2 separate regions of the Homo sapiens genome follow, and region 2 is linked to region 1. The links are contacts of gene promoters, found by promoter capture Hi-C in blood cells and fetal thymus (Javierre and others, 2016). All regions are on one chromosome and are shown on one strand. Each heading gives the region's core, a stretch centred on a gene start or on the middle of the fragment in contact. The rest is flanking DNA. Distances are from core to core; before and after follow the strand shown. Region 1 holds the start of LAMA3 (laminin subunit alpha 3). Region 2 overlaps LAMA3 (laminin subunit alpha 3).

Region 1 (3,735 bases), core at 536-3,035:
GGCACTAGATGTTCAACAACTTGTCATTTATGGAAGTGCATGGTCAAAAGAGTTTCTAAAACACTAATCTAGACACCCAATGATAACCTTGCTCTTTTAGAACCCAAGCTCCAAAATCGCTCCCTCTTCCCACTTCCTGTTCCTCAACAATACTTTGCAGAAGAAGGAGGCAATTTGGGCTTAGTGTCCAGGATTTGAAGTCAGGACTGGATTCAAATTCTCCTGCCCCTTTGGGAGGTCAAGACAGAAGGACAGCTTGAGGCTAAGAGTTTGAGACCAGCTTGGGCAAAATAGCCAGACTCTGTCTCTACAGAAAAATAAATAAATAAATAAATAAATAAATAAATAAATAAATAAATAAATAATTGCCAGGCCTGAGGTTGCAGTGAGCCGAGATCGCACCATTGCATTTCAGCCCCGGCGACAGTGCGAGACTCTGTCTCAAAAAAAAAAAAAAAAAATTGCCAGGCACGGGGGGGCACGCCTGTAGTCCCAGCTACGCCCAAGGCTGAGGCGGGAGGATCCCTTGAGCCCAGGAGTTCGAGGCTGCCGTGAGCCGTGATCGCACCACTGCACTCTTGCCTGGCTGAGACCTGTGAGTAAGGGCCAGGCACTGCAAGATGCTGCTTAACATGCACCGCAATGTCGTTTGCCCCGGGTGTTCGCGGTGAGGCTCGGATCTCTGAGAGCCTTTCTATCTCTGTCCGCCTAAGGTCTCATTCGCCCCCAATGACTGGATGGTGGCACTTCAGGCAGTGCAGTGAAGTGAATCTTTTCAGTAACATTAGAGTGATACCGCTGTTATAACCTAAAAATTCTCTCTTAAAATACACCACAGAAGGTAATTGCCACCGACTTCTCCGAATAAGGCCCGGGAGGTGGGGCAGGAGGCGCCCCTGAACCCTCGAGGACTCAAGCCTGGCGGGACGCTCCGTGGGTGACGGAGGCGGGAAGGGCCGAGGCGCCTGCATCTCTTAGAGCGCAGCCTCACACTTTCCCCTCCACCAGCCCGAACCTGACCACAGCCTCATGTCACCTCGCGTGCTCCCCCTCCTCGCCTCGGGCCGGTGGTGCCGGTGCGGTGCTTCCACGAGATCGCTCCTGGGTCGTGGGCCCTCGCGCGCGGGGATGGGGGCTGCCCTTCCCAGTCGCCCGGAGCCACTAGCGCGCGTGAGGAAAGGGCCCGATCCCTTCTCCGGGTGTCTGGCCGGCGCGGGAAGGAAAAGGCGCGCCCACCCCGGCTCTCTCCGAGGCCCTCACCTGGATGGTGTGGCCGCTGCCTGGGGCGGTGGGGCCCCCGACCAACTTGCAGTAGAGCTCGGGCTGGGGCCTCCCCTCGCCGGGTCCCCTCTCCCCGCAGGTGGCGGTGGCCCAAATCCTCGCCGCCTCGGCCAGGTTGAAGTAAGTCGGGTGAAGGCTGAGCCCGGCCGCGGCCCCGGGATCCCGAGCGGTCGCCCCGCAGGCTGGCAGCACCCGCAGTACCAGCAGGAGCAGCGGCGTCGGCGGCAGTACTGGCCCCAGTGCCCGACCCCGAGGCCGCGCGGCCGCCGCCATCCAGCCGCGCGGGGTCCTCCCGCCTGAGCCGTCCGCAGAGGGGCTCGGGGGCACCGCCGCTCTCCGCCTGCGCCTCCCGGACCTGCAGCGCCAGGACTAGCGCAGCCGGGGATATGGGCGGCGCCGGGGCCGCTCCCCTTGCTCCACGCGCTGGAAGCCCGCGGCGTGGGGGTGGCCTCTCAGCTCTGGAACCTGCCGCGGCTGGAGCGGGCACCAGCCGGATCAGGAACTGACAGCGCTCAGCCGCGCGCCAGCAGACGGCGTCTCTCCCGCGCGAGGCGCGCTGCAAACTTCGCGGGCGGGGAATGGGAGAGGCGTTCCCGGGCTCCCACCCAGGCGGCGGGAACGGGAGCCTGGGATCTTCGAACCCTCCAGGCGCCAGGACAGAAATTAATTAGATCGTTCTCCTCTCTGGATACTCACCGCTCAGGTCAAAGCCAGAAAAGCCACCTGTGACCTAAGAGTAAAGGAGGCTTGTAAACGAATTTGGTTGAGAGCAGAGGAAACTGCCACTACCTACAGAACTCACATCAAAGACATTTCGATTTCCCAGCCAAGTGTTGAGTCGTCAACTCCTCAACACTGTGCACCTAGGATCCCTGTGGCACTGCAGCCACAGGCTGAGCCAGGGAACTGGGAGTGGTGGAACGTACATATTTAAAAGACAGCCAATAATGCAAGTTGTAATTTGCCAACCTGGAAAGGAACCTTAGAGGAAATCCTTTAGATGCCTAATCTGCTCAATTTTACAAATAAGCTAACAGAGATTGAGTGAGGTACGCCACCTGCCATGATGGCCTCAGAACAGAGAAGACCCCCTCCCCCCACGACCCCGGACTGATGCTTGGTCTTATATGCAGAACACCCTACTAAAACAGAACCCACATAGGCCCTCGAAGAAATTAGAGGAATGCAATATTTGTACAATAAAAATTGCAAAACCTCTTTGAAAGAAATGTTAAAAGACCTAAATGAGTGGAAAAGCCTCCCATGTTCATGGATTAGGAGACAATATTGTGAAGATGGCAATATTTCCTAAAGCAACCTACAATTCAACACAATGGATTTTGATAGGGATCAAAATCCCGACTTTTTTTTTTTTCAGAAATTGACAAGCTGATCCTAAAATTCATGTGGAAATGCAAGAGACCTAGAAAATCCAAAACGATTCTGAGAAAGAATGAAGTCAGTGGACTCACGCTTCCTAGTTTTAAAACTTAATACAAAACTACAGTAATCAAGACAGTGTAGTACCGACATAACGATAAACATAGATCAATGGAATAGAATTGAGAGCTCAGAAATAAACCGTTACATTTATGGTCACTGGATTTTCAACAGGGTGCCAAGACTATTCAATGGGAAAAGAATAATATTTTTAATAAACGCTGCTGGGAAAACTGGACATCCCAAAATAATCTAGTAGGATCCCCACCTCATACTATATGCAAAAATTAACTCAAAATGGATTTAAGATCTCTAAATTTTACATTTAGAGAGCTAAACTATAAAGCTAAAACTATAAAATTCTAAGGGAAAAACACAGGAGAAAATCTTCATGACTTTGGATTAGCAATGCTGTCTTAGCTATGATATCAAAAGCGCAAGCAACAAAAGAAAAATATAAATTGGGCCGGGCACGGTGGCTCATGCCTGTAATCCTAGTACTTTGGGAGGCCGAGGTGGGTGGATCACCTGAGGTCAGGAGTTCAAGACTAGCCTGGGGAAAATGGTGAAACCCTGTATCTACTAAAAATACAAAACTTAGCCAGGCATGGTGGCATGTGCCTGTAATCCCAGCTACTCCAGAGGCCAAGGCAGGAGAATCACTTGAACCCGGGAAGCGGAGGTTGCAGTGAGCCAAGATCATGGCACTACACTCCAACCTGGGCAACAGAGCAAAAATCTGTCTCAAAACACACACACACACACACACAAAGATAAATTGAAACTTACCAAATTTTAAAACTTTTGTGCTTCCAAGGCACCCTCAAGAAAGCGAAAGATGGCCAGGCACAGTGGCTCATGCCTGTAATCCCAGCACTTTGGGAGGCCAAGATGGGTTGATCGCCTGAGGTTAGGAGTTCAAGACCAGCCTGGCCAACATGATGAAATTTTCTACTAAAAATACAAAAATTAGCTGGGCATGGTGGTGCACACCTGAAATCCCAGCTACTAGGG
Region 2 (3,735 bases), core at 769-3,268, 110 kb before region 1:
GTGGCTTCATTGCTTGAGCAAATTAACATATCACCTGACACCTGGAATGCAGCTGTTAGTCTGGCAAATGCTTTTTTCCTTCACACCTTTAGTAAAAACCAACAAGCAGTTTGTTTTCAACTGGCCAGGCCAGCAATATACTTTCACTGTCTGTATTAGGCTATTTTTATGTTGCTATAAAGAAATACCTGGGGCTAGGTAATTTATGAAGAAAAGAAATTTAATTGGCATAGTTTTGCAAGCTGTACAGGAAGCATGGTGCCAGCATCTGCTTCTGGTGAGGGTCTCAGGGAACTTACAACCCATGGCAGAAGGTAAAGGGGAGCCAGTACATCACATAGCAAGAACAGAAGCAAGGTAGGGGGAGGTATCACACACTTTTAAACAACCAGATCTCAAGTGAACTCAGAGAGAGATCTCACCCACTATCAGGAGGACAATACTAAGCCATTCATGAAGGATCCATCTCCATGATCCAAACACCTCCCACCAGGCCCCACCTACAACATTGGGGATCAGATTTCAACACGAGGTTTGGAGGGGGCAAACATCCAAACTATATCACTGTCCTACATCAGGGGTCTATCAACTCTGGTCCTGTGTCATAATTTAGGTCACAGGGATCTTGATCACCTTTCCCTTCCATAAGGCATCACATCGGTCTATTACATTGAGGACATTATGCTAATTGGAGCTAGTGAACAAGAAGTAGCAACTACTCTAGACTTATTGGTAAGACATTTGGGTGTCAGGAGGTAAAAATTAAATGCAATAAAACATCCAGAGTCTTCTACCTCAGTTAAATTTCTAAGGGTCCAGTAGTGTGAGTCCCAGAACAAGGGAAGGCTCTGCAGCAGGTCCAGGCTGCTGTGTAAGCTGTTCTGCCACTTAAAGCATATGACTGAGCAGATCTAATGGTGCTTTTAAGTGTCAGTGGCAGATAGGGATGCTTTTTGGAGCCTTCAGCAGGCCCACATAAGTGAACGACAGTGCAGACCCTTAGGATTTTGGAGCAAAGTCCTGCCACCGTCTACATATAAGCCATCCTCTGCAGATAACTTTTTTTTGAGAAACAGCTTTTCACTTTCTACTGGGTCTTAGTAGAGACAGAAGGCTTAACCATGGGCCATGAAGTCACTATGTGATGTGAGCTGACCATTATGAACTGGGTGTTATCTGACCCACGAAGCCATAAGTTGGGCAAGCACAGCAGCATTCCGTCATCAAATGGAAGTGGTATACATAAGATTGGATCCAAGCAGCCTCTACACAAGTAAGCTATGCAAAGAACGCCACACTCCACACTCCTGCTACATTCCACATCTACAGCATTATGGTGAGTTCCTTGTGATCAGTTAACAAAGAAAGAGAAAACTTAGGCCTGTTTTAGACCAGGTATTGCAAGATATGGAGGCATCACCTGAAAGTGGACAGCTGCAGCACATTTGTGCCTTTCTGGGACATCCTGAAGGACAGTGGTGAAGGGAAATCCTCCCAGTAGGGAGAACTTTGAGCAGTGTGCTGGTTGTTCACTTTGCTTGGAAGGAGAAATGGCCAGATGTGAAATTACATATTGATTAATGGGCTGTGGCCAATTCTTTGACTGGATGGCCAGGGACTTTGAAGGAACATGATTGGAAAATTGGTGACAGGAAGATCTGGGGAAGGGTCTGAGTGAAAACCCTCTCTAAATGGCTAAGAAACATGTCCTAGGTGAATGCTTCCCAAGTAGACAGGAGGATCTGTTCTGTGGATACCCGGCAGCCTCTGTCCCATCCACTTCTATCATTGTCCAGTGGGCTCATAACAAAGTAGCCATGGGGGCAGGGATGGAGTTTATCCCTGGGCTCAGCAAAATGTACTTCCACTCACCACAGCTGAGTTCCCAGTCTGCGAGCAGCAGAGACCAATACCAAGTCCTCAATATGGCACCATTCTCCAGGGTAATCAGCTGGCTACCTGGTGGCAGGTTAATTACTTTGAACTGTCCTATCATGGAAGGGGAAGTGTTTTGTTCTTATTGGAATGGACACTTACTTGGATACAGAAATTCCTTCTCTGCATGCAATGCTTCTGTCAAAACTACATTTGTAGACTTACAGAATGCTTTATTTACTGTCATAGTATCCACATAGTATTGCTTCTGATCAAAGAACTCGCTTCACAACAAATGGAATGCAGCAGTGAGCCCATGGTCATGGAATTCACTAATCTCACCACTTTCCCCACCATCCTGAACAGGTGGCTTAATACAACAGTGGAATGGCCTTTTGAAAACTCAGTTACAGTGAGTTTTCACTGTAGGTGAAAACTACTAGGTGGCAGTACCTTGCGGGGCTGAGGCAAGTTTCTCCAGAAAGCAGTATCTGCTCTGAATCATTGTACAACATATGGTTTCTCTGATAGCCAAGATTCACGAGTTCAGGAATCAAGAGGTAGAAATGGGAGTGGCATCACTCACTATAAACCCTAGTAATCAACTAGCTTCCAATCCCAGCTGCCTTCTGCTCTGGTGGTCGAGAGGTCTTAGTTCCAGAGGAAGAAATGCTTCTACCAGGAGACGTGACGATCATTCTATTGAACTGGAAGTTAAGACTGCTACATGGTTTCCTCATTCCTCTGAATCAACAGATGAAGATAGAAGCAATTGTGTTCCACTAATTACCAAGGGGAAAATGAACTGTTCTTCAAAAATGGAGGTAAGGAAGAATATGTCTAGAATACAGGAGATGACTTAAGGTGTCTCTTAGTATTACCATGTCTTGTGATTAAAGTCAATGGAAAACTACAACCCAATTCAGGCAAGACTACTGATGTCCTAGACCCTTCAAGAATGAAGATTTGTGTCACTTCACCAGGTAAAGAACCATGAGGTGCTTGCTGAGGGCAAAGGGAATATGGAATGGGTGGCAGAAGAAGGTAGTTACAAATACAGTTTGAGTATCCCTTATCCGAAATGCTGGGACCAAACATGTTTTAGATTTTTTATTTTTTCAGATTTTGGAATATTTGCATTATACCTGATTGGGCATCTCAAATTTGAATATTCAAAATCCAAAATTTTCCAATGAGTATTTGTTTTGAGCATCGTGTCAGCACTCAAAAAGTTCTGGATGCGGGAGCATTTTGGATTTTTGTATTTGGGATGCTCAACTTATACCAGCTATGACCATGTGACCTGTTACAGAAATTAGTATTTGTAATTGTAGTGAGTATTTCTTCCTATTTTGTTATGAATATGTTTTTTCTGTATATGCGTATGTTATATGTATGTAAAACAAAAATCTTTGTTTTCCAACTGAACAGCAAAAAATCAAATAATGTGATTTAAAAGTGGGCAAAGGATATAAATAGACATTTCTAAAAAGAAGACATACAAAAGGCCAACAAGTATACGAAAAAATGTTCAACATCACTAATCATCAGGGAAATGAAAATCAAACCCACAATGAGATATCATCTCCGTTAGAATGGCTATCATCAAAAAGACCAAAAATAGCAAATGCTGGAAAGGATGTGAAGAAAAGGAAACTATTATACATTATTAGTGGGAATGTAAATTGGTACGGCGATTATGGAAAACAGTATGGAGGTTTCTTTAAAAACTAAAAGTAGAACTACCATACAATCTAGCCATCTCACTACTGAGTATCTATCCAAAGAAAAGGGAATTTGTATATGAAAGGGACACCTGTGCCCCCATGGAGGTTTTTAGGCTCTAAAATGCAGGTAACA

The links. The method cuts DNA at HindIII sites, captures the fragments that hold promoters and counts their contacts. A CHiCAGO score of 5 or more calls a contact.
Region 2: a contact is called between a fragment that was not itself captured here and the fragment with the promoter of LAMA3 in region 1, in 1 of 17 cell types (M1 macrophages). The highest score is 5.3, in M1 macrophages.

The regions. Positions count from the first base shown.
Region 1 is chr18:23,687,503-23,691,237 of GRCh38, reverse strand. LAMA3 (laminin subunit alpha 3) reads right to left here and starts at 1,785. Exons shown (of 75, transcript NM_198129.4): 1 at 1,261-1,785. The coding sequence starts at 1,554. RefSeq lists an enhancer at 1,877-2,426. The HindIII fragment of the contact is 9,125 bases long and covers 1-3,735 here.
Region 2 is chr18:23,801,472-23,805,206 of GRCh38, reverse strand. The region is part of intron 12 of LAMA3 (laminin subunit alpha 3); the gene reads right to left. Among named protein-coding and RNA genes, the nearest start is that of LAMA3, 110 kb to the right of the region's middle. The HindIII fragment of the contact is 4,878 bases long and covers 1-3,735 here.